Linked DNA regions of Homo sapiens: region 2 is linked to region 1. Evidence: promoter capture Hi-C in human tissues and cell types (Jung and others, 2019). All regions are on one chromosome and are shown on one strand. The core of a region is centred on a gene start or on the middle of the fragment in contact, and the rest is flanking DNA. Distances in the headings are between cores, read along the strand shown.

Region 1 (4,437 bases), core at 486-2,985:
ACCAGCACAGATTGGACAGTCTTTCCCCTCTGGGCTTCTTGGCTCCTATCGGGCAACTCAAAGTGAGAATTTGGGGTCAGCAGTCCTAGTGCTGCCAGTGACTCACTGAATAACCTCCAGCAAGGCACTTAACCTCTCTGAGCCTCCCTATGCTTATTTAAATTTGAGAATGGTAATTCAGTCTGTCCACAAGGCAGGCTTGTTGAGAGAATGGAATAAAGCACTGTTACTTGAGGAGACGCTTTGTCAGCCTGAGTGAGCAGCTGTACATGTTGTTATTTAAAGAAAAAAATTCTGCTTTCAACCGTGTTCCAAAAAAAACTACTGCAAAGGCTAGGTGTAGTGGTTCATGCCTATAGTACCAACACTTTAGGAGGCTGAGGCAGGAAGATCACTTACGCCCAGGAGTTTGAGACCAGCCTGGTCAACATGGTGAAACCTTGTCTCTACTAAAAATACAAAAATTAGTTGGGCGTGGTGGTGGGTGCCTGTAATCCCAGCTACTTGAGAGGCTGAGGCAGGAGAATCCATTGAACCCGGGAGGCGGAGGTTGCGGTAGGGAGAGACCGCGCCACTGCATTCCAGCCTGGGCGACAGAGCGAGACTCCGTCTCAAAAAACAAAAAACAAACAAGCAAACAAAAAAAAGGCAACGATTGCACAGATTTTCATCAGGTTAACAGAGTGTTTGTGATGGTTTGACTTGAAATATAAGCTATGTTGCTTACATGAAGTTCCCTTTAAAGGGGCTCCAGGGCTCACCTCAAAGGATAAGGAGAGATCATTTAAAATAGCCGACAAGGGTACAACGAATGAGTCTCCCATGATCCGGAGACCCGCTCTGCTCACTGAGATTACTAACCATGGTCAGAGAAAACAAACAATTGCAGATACGAGACATAATTTTTTTTGAGACGGAGTCTCGCTCTGTCGCCCAGGCTGGAGTGCAGTGGCGCGATCACGGCTCACTGCAAGCTCCGCCTCCGAGGTTCATGCCATTCTCCTGGCTCAGCCCGGAGTAGCTGGGACTACGGGCGCCCACCACCACGCCCGGCTAATTTTTTGTATATTTAGTAGAGACGGGGTTTCACCGTGTTAGCCAGGATGGTCTCGATCTCCTGACCTCGTGATCCGCCCGCCTCGGCCTCCCAAAGTGCTGGGATTACAGGCGTGAGCCACCGCGCCCGGCCCGAGTCATAATGTTTTTAATCGTAGAGGCTGATGGTCAATTGAGTTCTTCCCACGTGGACAATTCCGTGAAGCCTGCTCTGACGTTAGGAGCAGCAGCGATTTCTCTTTAAAGCTGGTTAATGATTCCCTCCCGTAACTCCGGGTGGCCAGCTTGTACTTAAATAATTGTAAAAATGCGGACTGAGGTGGCATGCCTTTTTGGCCCTTTGCACACGGCTGGCCTATGTCGTTTATTAATTGGGAGGCAGTGTCATTGTGTAAATCCCCTTATTCCTAGCGGGGTCACGGTCTGAGTTTGAACGCGCCCCTCCGCAAGCATCTGTCACGGGCCAGATTAAAGACTACATTTCCCAAAGGCCCTCGCGGATCCCACCCTTCTCCCTCCCTTTCCGGTTTTACACATAGGCCCCGCCCCCAACGCGCGTGTCGGCCAATAGCGGCCCCACCTCTCGCGCCCGGCAAAAATAGGACGCGGGCGGGAACGTTTCGGGGTCCGCGGGGGCGGGGCCTGTGGCCAGGGGTTGGTCTTTGGAATCGGAGAGGCAGATTCGCTGCTCCGCAGCACGGCCGGAGCTGGTCGGGTCAAGAGTCGGGATTTGTGGGGAGAGGTTTTCCACTGGTCAAGAGAAGGCTTTAAGAAAGACGGTATTAATCTCCCGTTGCGGCTCCCGCCTGGTCCCATCTTCTGCCCGCTCCTCCAGGAAATGAATCTGCTGCCGAATATTGAGAGTCCAGTGACTCGGCAGGAGAAGATGGCGACCGTGTGGGATGAGGCCGAGGTGGGCACCGGGCGAGCTGGCGGTCCGGGAACCGGGGCCCGCAGGGAGACGCCATTGACAAGAGGGAAGGAGGTGGCTGGGGGTCAAGGTCTGGCCCGATCCCGGGGACGGGGTTGTTTGGGATGTGGGCAGGGGTCCTGACTCCATCCTGGTTTTATGGGCGTGGAAACTGAGGCTGTGAGTGGGTTCGGAGAACGAGGGATGCTTGTCCTGAGTAAAAGTAAATATATAAATAAACAAATAATTTTTTACAGCAAGATGGAATTGGGGAGGAGGTGCTCAAGATGTCCACGGAGGAGATCATCCAGCGCACACGGCTGCTGGACAGTGAGATCAAGGTGGGCGCACAGCTCCTGTGCGGGCGATGGAGCCCCCACAGGACAGGCCCCGGCGATCCGAGTCGCCTCTCGTACTTCCTAATCGGGCACCCTGGGGGAGACATGGGGCTCGGGCTTCCCCCTCATATCAGGAAGAGAGGAAAGAAAACTAAGCCTTAAAAGGGACAAGAAGACAGGTAGGGGGTGGTGGGAGGCCTGGGCTGAGATGAGAAGTTATCAGATTGCCTTTCCCAGTGAGAACTGGGAATAATCCTCTCAAGAATCCTTCTTTTAGTAAAATGCCTATTTTACAGATGAGGAGACAGGCCCAGAGAGGTTTGTACTGCGATAAAGCACCCAGTTCTTACTATGAGGCAGAACCTAAAACCTATGTTTGCCTCTCTCGGAGGCCTGCTTTTATTCCAATACTACCACTATTTCACCAGGAGGTTTCCAAACTGGCCTCCTCTTTTGACTTCTGCAGGATGTGGACACAGTCAGACTCTGCCTTCAGAGAGCCTCAGAGCTGGATGAATGGATGCGGGAGGGTCCCCTGGGCACCCTGGACCTCACTAGTTACAGGGCTCTAGCATAAGCTGTGCCAGGGTTTATATTTGCTTCTCCTCCCCTCCTGATCTCAGATCATGAAGAGTGAAGTGTTGAGAGTCACCCATGAGCTCCAAGCCATGAAGGACAAGATAAAAGAGAACAGTGAGAAAATCAAAGTGAACAAGACCCTGCCGTACCTTGTCTCCAACGTCATCGAGGTGTGTGTGTATGTGGAGGGGAAGAGAGGGAGTCAGCAGGGAATGGGGACAGCCTGGGGTGGGGCCACTAGGGAAAGAGTGGGTGGAGGTATTGAGGCCAAACTGCATGTCAGAGCTACACCTCCTGGGGCACTTTCATGGGGAAGACGGGGCCTGCAAAGTCCTGGGAGGTCTCACGTGTCTCCTTTTCTGTTGGTTATGTCTCCTCCGGGGTAGATGAGCCCTGTGCAGAGGAGCAGCACCTACACAGAGATCAATCCCTGGGCTTAGCAGGGGCACCCACGTTTGGTGGGCTCAGGGCTATTGGAGGAGGGAGGTAAGGATGGCCAGCCCTGCAGGTATTAGGAACTGTCTTAGGAAGCACTGGGCCTTGGGGAGTTCAAGGAGCTGAGTATTTTTTCCTTCCCAGCTCCTGGATGTTGATCCTAATGACCAAGAGGAGGATGGTGCCAATATTGACCTGGACTCCCAGAGGAAGGGCAAGTGTGCTGTGATCAAAACCTCTACACGACAGGTGAGCGTGGCTCAGCAATGAGAGACTGGAGGAGGGTGAGGAGCGGATGTGGGACAGGACTAGGGAGCCTTCCCTGAGGACACTAACTGAGACTGCCCCTGTAACTTGTCCACAGACGTACTTCCTTCCTGTGATTGGGTTGGTGGATGCTGAAAAGCTAAAGCCAGGAGACCTGGTGGTGAGTGGGGCCTGAGCCCAGGCAGTGCTTTTCTGGTGACTAGCTGAGCCCCTGTACCCGCCCCAGGTCACTGTTGGCTCTGAATCTTGGCAGAACAGCTCCGAGAGTCTGGGATTCTGTCTACTTGCTGTTTGATTCTTGTATTGCCCAGTCCTGTGTCTTTCCCTCTGCAGACACCTGTCACCCAGTCAGTTGGGTAGCCCTTGAGCTGGGCCAAATCTGAAGGCCCTGTGCTGTGTCCTTAGGGTGTGAACAAAGACTCCTATCTGATCCTGGAGACGCTGCCCACAGAGTATGACTCGCGGGTGAAGGCCATGGAGGTAGACGAGAGGCCCACGGAGCAATACAGTGACATTGGGGGTTTGGACAAGCAGATCCAGGAGGTGAGGGAGGCACGGCAGCTGCCAGCAGCCTTGTCAGCCTTTTAGTTTCTCCACGCCATTGATGCAGCTCATCTCCCTAATGTGTCTTTCATCCTCATAGCAACCTAGGGAGGAAGGGAGGGGTGCCATGTGACAGGTGAGGAGACTGAAGCCCAGAGAGTTTAAATGCCTTGCCCAGGATCACAGAGAGACCAGAGCCAGGACTGGAGCCCAGGCTCCTGGTTCTTGGCCCAGTGTCCTTTTTTTTTTTTTTTCCGAGATGGAGTTTTGCTTTTACTGCCCATGCTGGAGTGCAATGGCACGATCTCG
Region 2 (4,479 bases), core at 283-2,782, 110 kb before region 1:
GCCTGTAATCCCAGCACATTGGGAGACTGAGTCGGGTGGATCACGAGGTCAGGAGATCGAGACCATCCTGGACAACATGGTGAAACCCCGTCTCTACTAAAAATAACAGAAATTTGTTGAATGTGGTGGTGTGTGCCTATAGTCTCAGCTACTCAGGAGGCTGAGGCAGGAGAATTGCTTGAATCCAGGAGGTGGAGGCTGCAGTGAGCCAAGATGGCGCCACTGCACTCTAGCCTGGGCGACAGAGTGAGACTCTGTCCCAAAAAAAAAAAAAAAAAAAATTTGTATGGTAAAAACCTTGTGGAGCTCTGATCTTGAAACTTCGTAATTTTTATTGCCTGAACAGTCAGAAGGCTCCTAGACAACTCTGATTTTGGCTCAGTTTTCAGTAGCTCCAAAGAATAAGAAAAGGATAATCTGATATTGCTGGCAGTCTGCACTCTTGCCTTTCTGGGCCAAGACATGCTTTTCCAAATAAAATCAAGGAAATAGTAAACCACTAGTAAAAATGAATAAAGCATCCAAGAGTTTGCCTCCTGTCATGTCCTGTTTTCTCCTTTTTGTTTCTAGGCTGTTTGATATTAAACTCATGTGCCAAAACTATACTGTGGACTTGTCCTTCCTACTTCCCCTTTCAAGCTGATGGGAAATAATTATGGAAAGACATTATGTTTATTATATATTCATTGTTTTTATTGCGTGCTATTTCTGTTTAATAGTCTCTGCATACATTTACAAGTGCAATTTTTATTTTTTATTATTATTTTTTGAAATGGAGTCTCACTCTGTCACGCAGGCTGGAGTGCAGTGGTGTGTTCTCAGCTCTGCAGCCCCCGCTTCCCAGGTTCAAGTAACTGCCTCAGCCTTCTGAGTAGCTGGGATTACAGGTGTGCACCACCACGCCCAGGTAATTTTTGTATTTTTTTTAGTAGTGACGGGTTTTCGCCATGTTGGCTAGGCTGACCTCCAACTCCACCTGACCTCAGGTAATCTGCTCACCTTGGCCTCCCAAAGTGCTGAGATTACAGGCATGAGCCACCACACCCGGCCTACAAATGCAGTTTTTTAAAAAGCTTTGCAAACCTCTTTACTGAGCTAATTTGGGTTATAGATAGCATTGGGAAACTATCTATCAGTCTGTCTATCTATCTATCTATTTATTTATGACAATCTCGCCTTGTCGCCCACGATGGAGTACAGTGGTGCAATGTTGGCTCACTGCAACCTCCGCCTCCCGGGTTCAAGTAATTCTCGTGCCTCAGTCTCCAGAAGAGCTACTACAGGCCGTTGGCACCATGCCCAGCTAATTTTTCTATTTTTAGTAGAGATGAGATTTTGCCATGTTGGCTAGGCTGGTCTCAAACTCTTGGCCTCAAGTGATTCACCTGCCTCAGCCTCCCAAAGTGCTGGGATTGCAGGCTTGAGCCACCATGCTGGCCAGAAACTATTTAAAAACAAACTCTTGGGCTGGGTGCAGTGGCTCATGCCTATAATCCCAGCACCTTGGGAGGCTGAGGCGGGCGGATCACAAGGTCAGGAGATCAAGACCATCCTGGCTAACACAGTGAAACCCTGTCTGTACTAAAAACAGAAAAAATTAGCTGGGCACGGTGGCACACGCCTGTAATCCCAGCTACTTGGGAGGCTGAGGCAGGAGGCTCGCTTGAACCCAGGAGGTGGAGATTGCAGTGAGCCGAGATTGCACCACTGCACTTCAGCCTGGGCGACAGAGCAAGACCCTATCTCAAGAAAAAAACAAAAACAAAAAAACTTGTGGGCATGCTACAGGAAAGCTTAGGTGAGTAAATATAGCAAAACAAGACATGATTTATTTTTTTTTTTTTTTTGAGATGGGGTTTCGCTCTTGTTGCCCAGGCTGGAGTGCAGTGGTGCAACCTTGGCTCACTGCAACCTCCACCTCCCCGGGTTCAAGCGATTCTCCTGCCTCAGCCTCCTGAGTAGCTGGGATTACAGGCATGCCCCACCATGCCCGGCTAATTTTCTATTTTTAGTAGAGACGGAGTTTCTCCATGTTGGTCAGGCTGGTCTCGAACTCCTGAACTCAACTGATCCGCCTGCCTCGGCCTCCCAAAGTGCTGGGATTACAGGTGTGAGCCATCTCGCCCAGCCCAAGACATAATATGTTTGTGGAGTATCTTAATAACTATTGCCTACGGTAGTTAATGGTATATCTTATCTCCATAGAACCATTTTTTTTTTCTTTTGGTTTGTGAATTTGTTGTATGAATTGGTTCTGAGTTTGGTTTTCAACACATTTAAATGGAATTTATATTTAGGTTTCAGTAGTTATTAGTGTGAGGGATACTCTTGAAATTTGTGCCAGGTACTTTTCTGGCTCAAACTATTATGGATCAGGCGTAGGGTAGCTGAAGTTCTAGATTATTACTGTGAAATCAAGTGCTGTTTTTGTTAATGTTCATTTGTCTGGTATAAGTTTGCTCTGGGGCTAAGCTAGATCTATGGAAAGACTTAACCCTTTTCCAGAAAGCTTCCAACTTAGGGAAAAAAATTTTTTTTTTTCTAATTCTGACTGTTCCACTTCTGAAAAAAACAGATCCACAGATCAGACTTGTAAATGATCTGTTTTCTTAAGATATCTTCTAACAGAATGGGTCTCCAGGGAACTGAGTGACAACACACATTTAGCTGGGAGTGGCAGTTCATCTCCCTAAACGTAATTTAACATCACATTTATCTACACACTACAGTTTTGGAGGCATACTTGGAGATTGAACTTATACTTCTCTTGGCTTATTTTATTTTATTTTATTTATTTTTGAGATGGAGTCTCGCTCTGTCGCCTAGGCTGGAGTGCAGTGGTGCGATCTCTGCATACTGCAAGCTCCACCTCCTGGGTTCACACCATTCTCCTGCCTCAGCCTCCCGAGTAGCTGGGACTACAGTTGCCCACCACCACGCCCGGCTAATTTTTTGTATGTTTTTAGTAGAGACAGGGTTTCACCATGTTAGCCAGGATGGTCTCGGTCTCCTTACCTTGTGATCTGTCTGCCTTGGCCTCCCAGAGTGCTGGGATTACAGGCATGAGCCATGGCGCCCGGCCAGCTTTATTTTTATAATTTTGTGTCTGATATATTTCTAACATAATTGTGTAGAGAAGCTGAGATTTCTTGAACTTTGGAAAACATTGAAATCTTGATAGAAAAAATACTAAATATGGCCAGGCGCCGTGGCTCATGCCTGTAATCCCAGCACTTTGGGAGGCCAAGGCGGGTGGATCACCTGAGGTCAGGAGTTCGAGACCAGCCTGGCCAATGTGGTGAAACCCCATCTCTACTAGAAATACAAAATATTAGCCGGGCATGGTGGCAGGCGCCTGTAATCTCAGCTACTTCGGAGGCTGAGGCAGGAGAGTAGTTTGAACTAAGGAGGCGGAGGTTGCAGTGAGCAGAGATTGTGTCACTGTACTTCAGCCTGGGCAACAAGAGTGAAACTCTATGTCCAAAAAAAAAAAAAAAAAAAAAAGGAAAGAAAAAATGCTAAATATAACTTATGTTGTGGTCTGGAAAGAAATAGCAGCATACATAGGTCATAGAAACTTCAGTTGAGTTTATATTGATGTAGCTGCTTTTATGAAGAGGGAGGGGAAAAACTAAGAGTTGAATATATTTAACTATTGTGCAACAGAGTGTCACTAAAATAGTTATAAATATTCCTTTTTTTTTTTTTTTTTTTTTTGGGGGAGAGTCTCGCTCTATTGCCCAGGCTGGAGTGCACTTGAGCAATCTCAGCTCACTGTAACCCCTGCCTCTTAGGTTCAAGTGATGCTTCTGCCTTAGCCTCCCAAGTAGCTGGGATTGCAAGTGCCCGCCACCATGCTCAGCTAATTTATGTATGTATGTATGTATGTATTTATTTATTTTTTGAAATGGAGTCTCGCTCTGTAGCCCAGGCTGGAGTGCGGTGGTGCGATCTCAGCTCACTGCCACTTCCGCCTTCCGGAGTTTAAGCAGTTCTCCTGCCTCAGCCTCCTGAGTAGCTGGGACTACAGGCATACACTGCCATGCCTGGCTAATTTTTTGTATTTTAGTAGAGAGGGGGTTTCACCATGTTGCCCAGGCTGGTCGTGAACTCCTGAGCTCAGGCAATCTGCCTGCCTTGGCCTCCCAAAGTGCTGGGATTATAGGCATGAGCCACTATACCCGGCCAATTTTTGTATTTTTAGTAGAAATGGGGTTTCACCATGTTGGCCAGGCTAGTCTTGAATTCCTGACCTCAAGTGATCCCCCCGCCTCAGCTTCCCAAATTGCTGGTATTACAGGCGTGAGTCACTGCGCTTGGTCTAATATTTCTTCAGAAATGTATACTGTATGGTACTATTTCTTGAAGGTAGCTTGCTGAAATAATAAGATCAGCTTTCTGAATTGCCAGATCCAGAACATCAAAAAAAAAAAATACTGTGATAGAAAAAAAAAAGCCTTCTGGATCCACCCCCAGGAA

The links. Contacts are between HindIII fragments. The study calls those that stand out against the background at their distance.
Region 2: a fragment that was not itself captured here is called in contact with the fragment with the promoter of PSMC3 in region 1 in 3 of the 25 tissues and cell types used here (dorsolateral prefrontal cortex, liver and thymus).

Annotation. Positions count from the first base shown.
Region 1 is chr11:47,423,737-47,428,173 of GRCh38, reverse strand. It overlaps PSMC3 (proteasome 26S subunit, ATPase 3), which reads left to right and starts at 1,735. Exons shown (of 12, transcript NM_002804.5): 1 at 1,735-1,969; 2 at 2,224-2,307; 3 at 2,928-3,053; 4 at 3,463-3,567; 5 at 3,683-3,745; 6 at 3,991-4,128. The coding sequence starts at 1,895. RefSeq lists silencers at 1,497-1,626, 1,897-2,108 and an enhancer at 1,727-1,926. The HindIII fragment of the contact is 16,812 bases long and covers 1-4,437 here.
Region 2 is chr11:47,533,048-47,537,526 of GRCh38, reverse strand. All of the region lies in intron 1 of CELF1 (CUGBP Elav-like family member 1), which reads left to right. Among named protein-coding and RNA genes, the nearest start is that of CELF1, 18 kb to the left of the region's middle. The HindIII fragment of the contact is 4,129 bases long and covers 1-3,596 here.